Regions from separate parts of the Homo sapiens genome. Here region 1 is linked to region 2. Evidence: promoter capture Hi-C in human tissues and cell types (Jung and others, 2019). All regions are on one chromosome and are shown on one strand. The core of a region is centred on a gene start or on the middle of the fragment in contact, and the rest is flanking DNA. Distances in the headings are between cores, read along the strand shown.

Region 1 (3,650 bases), core at 244-2,743, 850 kb after region 2:
TAGGGAATATACTTTGCTCAGCCACTAGGTACTATTGATTAAAGTTCTCAGGCTCAGAGAAGTTGCCTGTAACTTAGAGATTCTTGTCTGGTAGAAATGCAGGCTGGGGGCTGTGACTGGTGCCTGTAATCCCAGCACTTTGGGAGGCCAAGTGTGGGAGGATCGCTTGAGCCCAGGAGTTCAAGATTACAGTGAGCCATGATTGTGCCACTGCACTCCAGCCTGGGAGACAGAGCAAGACCTTGTCTCTAAAAATAACCCCCCACAAAATCCAGAACCAGAAAGGCCAGGCATGGTAGCTCATGCTTGCAATCCCAGCACTTTGGGAGGCCAAGGTGGGTGGATCACCTGAGCTCAGGAGCTTGAGATCAGCTGGGCAACATGGCAAGACCTCTGTCTCTACAAAAAATACAAAAATTAGCTGAGTGTGATGGCACGCATCTGTAGTCCCACCTACACAGGAGGCTGAGGTGGGAGGATCGCTTGAGCCCAGGAGGCAGAGATTACAGTGTGCTGAGATCACACCTGTCTGGGTGACAGAGTGAAACTGGGTCTCAAAAAACAAAACAAAACCCAAAAAACAGAACAAAACAAAAAGAGATGCAAATAATTTTCATGCAGCAGAAAAGAAAACCCCAAAGGTTATGGTCTGGTGCCCTCTAGGATATTAACCAGTTTTGGATCCATCAATTTTATCCTAATATTTATTTATTAATATGATTATAAATACCTAGCTCCTCATTTGTCCTTTGAACCAGTCTTCACATCTTACTATTTTCCTCACTAATGAGTTGAATAAAATATTTGACAAGTGTTAATTTTAATTTTATTATTTATGTATTTATATTTAATTTTTTAATTTTTTTTTGAGACAGAGTTTAGCTTTTTTTGAGATGGAGTTTAACTTTTTTTTTTTTTTTTTTTGAGACAGAGTCTTGCTCTGTCGCCCAGGCGCGATCTTGGCTCACTGCAACCTACGCCTCCTGGGTTCACACCATTCTCCTGCCTCAGCCTCCCAAGTAGCTGGGACTACAGGCGCCTGCCACCACACCTGGCTTATTTTTTTATATTTTTAGTAGAGACAGGGTTTCACTGTGTTAGCCAGGATGGTCTTGATCTCCTGACCTTGTGGTCTGCCCACCTTGGCCTCCCAAAGTGCTGGGATTACAGGCGTGAGCCACCGCGCCTTGCCTGGAGTTTAATTTTCTGGAGACGGAGTTGTCCAGGCTGGAGTGCAATGGTATGATCTCAGCTCACTGCAACCTCCGCTCCCCAGGTTCAAGCAATTTTCCTGCCTCAGCCTCCCAAGTAGCTGGGATTACAGGCATGTGGCCACCATACCGGTTAATTTTGTATTTTTAGTAGAGATGGGGTTTCACCATGTTGGCCGGGGTAGTCTTGAACTCCTGACCTCAGGTGATCCACCTACCTCGGCCTCCCAAAGTGCTAGTATTACAGGCATGAGCCACCACTCCTGGCCATATTTATTTATTTTTTTGAGACAGAGTCTGCCTCTGTGGCCAAGTGCAGTGGCGTGATCTTGGCTCACTGCAACCTCTGCCTCCCAGGTTCAAGCGATTCTCCTGCCTCAGCCTCCTGAGTAGCTGAGATTATAGGCACGTGCCACCACACTCAGCTAATTTTTGTATTTTTAGTAGAGATGGGGTTTCACCATGTTGGTCAGGCTTGTCTTGAACTTCTGAACTCAAGTGATCCACCCACCTCAACCTCCCAAAGTGCTGGGATTACAGGCAGGAGCCAACGCGCCCAGCCTTGTTAAAGTTTCTAAAAACTCTGTATTAAAGGCATTTTTTTTCTTAAAAAGTGATTGTGGATTGATGGTTTAGCTTGTGATTAGGAAATATTGTACTATTTTAGTTGTGCTTTATTTACATCTATGTTAAAATTTATATTAACTAAGCAAGTCTAATTTTCCGTTTATCCACTGAAGACACTGACCAACATTAGAGTGCTTTCAATAGTTGACAGCAATCAACTTAAAAGCACAATTATGAGAATAAAGCTTGTCAATTCTTTTTAATTTTCTTCTCCAATGGAGTGTTTTGATGGCTAGGTTGAGTGAAGCAAAAGACATATATTTTGATTTTATTTGAGCATTTAAGTTTCATATTTTGAATAACACAGTCAAGCACAGCTATTAGCTATTAATTTTTTTTTTTTTTGATGCAGGGTGTCTCTTGCTCCATCTCTGAGGCTGGAGTACAGCAGTGCGTTCATGGCTCCCTGCAGCCTCTACCTTCCAGGCTAACGTGATCCTCCTGCCTCAGCCTCCTGAGTAGCTAGGAGTACACGTGTGTGCCAGCACACCCAGCTAATTTGTTTTTAATTTTTTTTTTTTTTTGTAGAGACAGAGTCTCTCCATGTTGCCCAGGCTGTGCAGCTATTAATTTACAAAAAATTTTTTAGGCCAGGTGCATTGGCTCATACCTGCAATCCCAGCACTTTGGGAGGCCAAGACAGACAGATCACTTGAGGCCAGGAGTTTGAGACAAGCCTGGCCAACAGGGTGAAACCCCGTTTGTACTAAAAATACAAAAATTAGCTGGGTGTGGTGGTGGATGCCTGTAATTCCAGCTACTTGGGAGGCTGAGGCATGAGAATTGCTTGAACCCGAGAGGTGGAGGTTGCAGTGAGCTGAGATCACGCCACTGCACTCCAGCCTGGGCTACAGAGTGAGACTCTGTCTCAAAAAAAAAAAATTTTTTTTTTTTTTTTTAGCTAAGCATGGTGGCTCACACTTGTAATCCCAGCTATTAATATTTGGGAGGTTGAGGTGGAAGAATCACTTGAGGTCAGGAGTTTAAGACCAATCTGGGCAACATAGTGACACTCTGTCTCAAAGCAAAAAAAAAAAAAATTCTTTTGAAAGCATTAAATGCCTTGGGGTACATATCATTGTACATACGATGTTATGACATCATAAAGTAGAGCGAGTACACGGTCCCTTGATAGTTCTGCATCTGGATTTTCAGGGTTACTCAGCTTATTTTTCTTCTAGTGGAGTGATATTTTAAAAATCATTAGGACTTTCACTTGAAGGTGAGCTGAGAAAAATGCAATGAAAGAAGTTAAAAATTAATCTGGTTTATTTTACTGCTTTTTAATATTTTGGAGTATAAATCATTATAATAAATGGTCAGTTAAAATAAATGATTTCTCCCTCATTGCAACTGATAGCTGAATGTGAGCTGAAAGGTTATGTACGTGCAAGCAAATGCATTCCTGGTAGAAGAAATCATTTGAGCAAAGACCTACAATTTCTTGTTCACTATTTACAGGCAGTGATGAAACCAGAAACTTTGGGAGGTCTATTTCAGGAGAAGCAGATAAGTAAGATACTTCTTGAAGGCTGGGCATGCTGTCTCACGCCTGCAATCCAGCACTTTGGGAGGCCGAGGTCGGCAGATCGCCTGAGGTCAAAAGTTTGAGACCAGCCTGGCCAACATGTTGAAACCCCATCTCTACTAAAAACACAAAAATTAGGCTGGGTATGGTGGCTCACGCCTGTAATCCCAGCACTTTGGGAGGCCGAGGGGGTTGGATCACCTGAGGTTGGGAGTTCGAGACCATCCTGACCAACGTGGAGAAACCCCGTCTCTATTAAAAATACAAAATTAGCTGGGCGTGGT
Region 2 (3,652 bases), core at 49-2,548:
CTCCCGGGCGGCTGGCGCGGACGGGGCTGAAGTTCAATGCAGCCTGCACGGATTAGGGAGCTCCGAGCCCCCAAATACCACAGAGACCCAAAGTACACTCCCGGGGCGGGGGAAGGGAACGGCGGCAGAGGAGACCCCCGCTCCAGGCCCAGAAACGCCCGGAGAGAAACTGGAGCGGAGGGGGTGCATTGGAAGACGCAGCTACACAGCTCCCCCCAACCCCCGCCCCGCTGCTTTCCCCACCCACCGCCCCTCCCCTCTCCTCCCTCCCCTCCCCTCTCTCCGTCTCCAGCAGCCGAGCGCGGGCTCCACCTCCCCGGAGCGCAGTCCACACCGTCCCTTTTCAGCAAAACAACACAACGCACCGCCCCCCGCACCCGCACCCGGCTGGATACCGGGCTACGCCCAGCCGCCCACCCGCCGCGCCCGGCGCCCCCTCTAGTCTGCAGCCGCCCAGCCCCCGCCCCAGGCGGAGCCCCAGCCCTGGCTGCACGCGGGCAGAGAGAGAGATTGAGCCCCGGCTCCGCCAGCCCAGCTCGGGCCCTGTCCCTCTACCCTTTCCCCAAGCCGCCCGAAGTGACAGGAGGGGCACGCACGGCGCGCGCGGGGCGTCCAGCGTTAACCGCTTCGGCGCCGGGGACGGGAGCGACAGGAGGGCTGGGGAGCAGGGGACCGAGTGCTGGGACTCACCGGAATGTGCACGCGCAGCGAACGCCTCTTCTGGCTGGCATTTTTCTTGCCGCCGCTCCCGCCGGGGCTGGAAACATCTTTTTTCTTCTTGGTGTCCATAACCGCGCTTCCCATAACTCTAACCAGAAGTTGATTCTGCGAAACTCCTCGGGGGTTCGGTCCCCTCCTTCCCTCCCCCGGCCGCTGCCTTCGGACTGGAGCCGCGCGCTCTGTTACACCCTGAAGCCACCTCGTGGGGACTTCCGCGGAGAGGGAGGGTGAGCAGGGAACTCGCGCGGCCGCCGCCGCCGCCGAAGCGCCGAATTCAAGCGTCCTTTCCTACGGAACCCTCGTAGGCAAATCAGTCAAAGCCCGTCCCGGTTCTGGTGTCTCCCCGGGTTACTCGTGGCTGAGGTCTCCCGCTGGGTGACAAAGTTTTCTTCCTTTTGCAAAGCTAAGAAACATTTTCCACCCTCTCGGCTCCTCCCACAGATTCCCAGAGGTAATCTGAAAGGCAGGTGCAATTAAAACCAGCAATTTGGAAAACAAGCCTCCTATGCCTGTGCCCAAGTGGGGAATCTGGAACCAGTAAGCCCGTTCGTGCATAAATGTAATCCTCGGCCGCAGAATAAACCAGCTCGGAGCCTGCAGCTGGGTCCGTCCTCCTTTCTGGGCGAGAGGGAGGGCGGCGGGGGAAGAGGAGGTGCAAGGCGAGCCCTCTGCGCAATTAGGCTACGGGCGGCCGCTGGCAGAAGTTCTGGCGGCGGCGCTCGCGGCCCTGCGCGCCGGAGGGGGCGCCCGGAGTCCAGCGGGCCAAGAAGGGCAGGGCGCCCGCTCCTCGCCCCCCGCCGCGCCGCGGCCCCAGGGGACCGCAAGGGGACAGTGAGGGGCCGGGCCTGGCACCGACGCAAGCTCGGGGAGCGCGGGTGGTGGGAGGCGGCGCGTGTTGAACAGGAAGTGCGCGGCGTGCAGCGCCACCGTCCCGCTCCCCGTCGCCCCACGCCGCCCTCGTCGCCGCGCCCAGACCCCTGCGGCGGCCGCAGCCGCTTGGGACTCGCTGCGAGCTGGTTTCGGATCCATCCCGCCTCCCGGCGTCTCACTGTGTGCCCTACCCTTTGAAACACGCCCCCGCGCCCGCCCTGCCGTAGACCAGGCAGCGAGGAAGCCCACAGTCTCCGGGGGCGCTGCGCGCGAAGTAGCACGTGCTTCTCGAAACACCGCAGCCCCCGGGTCCCGCCCCGCCCGGCGCGCGCACTCGAACCCGCCCAGAGAGCGGTGCGTGGCGCTGGGTGCGAGCAGGGTCTAGCCACCCCCACCCTCACCCCACCCCACCCCACCCTGCTTTTTTCAGGTTCATCAAGGTTTGCGCAGTGGATCCGCGGTAAGTGCGTGTCCCCACGCCGCGGGAAACGTGGGGCTCCTGAGACTGCGGAAAGAATTGGGAGAAGGGGAGGGCTCGAAGACCCGGGCGAGGGTTCCCGGTGCGGCCCAGGTCCTTTAGAGCCCCGGGTGGGCATCCAGTACCGCCTGCTGCCGAGGGCCCTAGAGGGGTTGGGGGAGGGGGCTGGTGTGTCCCCCACCCCCAGATGCGCCCCAGGATGGCGCGACCTCGGCTCCCTGGTGGAAAGTAGGGGGAGTGCTGGCTTGGGGGTCGCTTCCCCTCCTGCTCTAGTTTCTGAGGATGTGATGACCCCAAAGGTCATTGGCGCTCCCAGAATGCTGACGTCAGCTCAGCCGCTCCGAGTAATCAGTAATGCAGGGAGGCCACCCGCAGAAAGAACGCGACAGGGGTCGCTTTGGGGACACCATAGGGCCTTTACTCCTTTTGAGGTGCGTGCTTTCGCAGGACTCCCTCCCCAGAGGAGGAGGCATGATCAGCCCACCCAAAGGATCATCTCTTAGGAAGCAGGCGTGCGCCCACGCAGGGAGAAGCATCCTTCCTTTCAGCTGCTTGCCGGGTGGCTTTTCCAACCCGAGTTCCAGCAGCTTGCACAAAATCCTTACAGCTTGGGTGGTTCCCTGGCTCATAGGGGTGGGTTTATATTCTTTCTCCTTCTCCTCTGCTCTCTGGTCCAGAATGAAGCCAGCCTGGAAGATCCCCAGTCTCGAGACAGAGCCTGACAGGGGCAGATGCACTGGAAGGACCCTGTCTGGGTTTAGCAACCAAGCAGCCATCCTGGCCCCACAGGTGTGGGACTTCTGGGTCTTCTCCTGGCTGGCTTCTTGCTAGAGGATTTCAAGAGACCCAGCAAGACTGTATTGTCCCACTGAATGCTCAAGATATTGGTTAGAAGTAGAAAAGGGGAGGGGGTAGTATTTAGCCTCTGTCCCCACTAAAAATTATTCCCAATTGTCATTTGTGTCATCTGTTTAGCTTACAGTTTTAATCCTTGTCAAAATGATCATTTGCCAGGGTGCATAAAACACCCTATTTGATGAGAACTGGTTTTAAAGGAAAATGGGGCCATCAGAAGGAAGCCGGTTGGTGTGAAGAGACGTCTGGGAAGAGCCCCTGGCGAGGGCCCTCATTCCACTGGGTGACCCAGAAGGAGAAAACCGCGATGGCGCTTCTCATTTGAAATGTTTTCTTTATGGACAGTGTTTAGCAATTGTTATAATGTGTACTTTTGTTGATTGATCTGTATACATATGTAAAATAATTTGTTCTCTGAGTTAATTTTGTTGGAACAAAGACTTTAGTGCTTCCTACATTAAAACATTTTACTGTATTGCCTGCATTTTAAGAGCCTTTTTTTAATTTTTAATTTTTTTGGTCCTTGTGATATGACGAGGTATAAATTCTGGGTTTTGTCCAGGGTTCCTGGCTTAGCACTCTCGTCGCCCTCATCACAGTCTCTTGTTATAATGTTGGGGCGCTTTAGGCCTCAGACACCCCAGGAAACAATCTCCTCTGAACTTCCCCTGCCCTCCTTCACCACCTCACCAGCCCAAGGCAGGACTCTAATCCTCCCTCATCTTTCTG

Evidence for each region. Contacts are between HindIII fragments. The study calls those that stand out against the background at their distance.
Region 1: a contact is called between a fragment that was not itself captured here and the fragment with the promoter of PRKAG2 in region 2, in 1 of the 25 tissues and cell types used here (spleen).

The regions. Positions count from the first base shown.
Region 1 is chr7:152,723,414-152,727,063 of GRCh38, forward strand. No RefSeq gene overlaps it. Among named protein-coding and RNA genes, the nearest start is that of ACTR3B, 35 kb to the right of the region's middle. The HindIII fragment of the contact is 3,131 bases long and covers 1-3,059 here.
Region 2 is chr7:151,875,817-151,879,468 of GRCh38, forward strand. It overlaps PRKAG2 (protein kinase AMP-activated non-catalytic subunit gamma 2), which reads right to left and starts at 1,299. Exons shown (of 16, transcript NM_016203.4): 1 at 691-1,299. The coding sequence starts at 804. It overlaps PRKAG2-AS1 (PRKAG2 antisense RNA 1), which reads left to right and starts at 1,226. Exons shown (of 3, transcript NR_038926.1): 1 at 1,226-1,324; 2 at 2,021-2,050; 3 at 2,746-3,407. RefSeq lists an enhancer at 42-161 and silencers at 352-491, 552-601, 1,364-1,793. The HindIII fragment of the contact is 16,422 bases long and covers 1-3,652 here.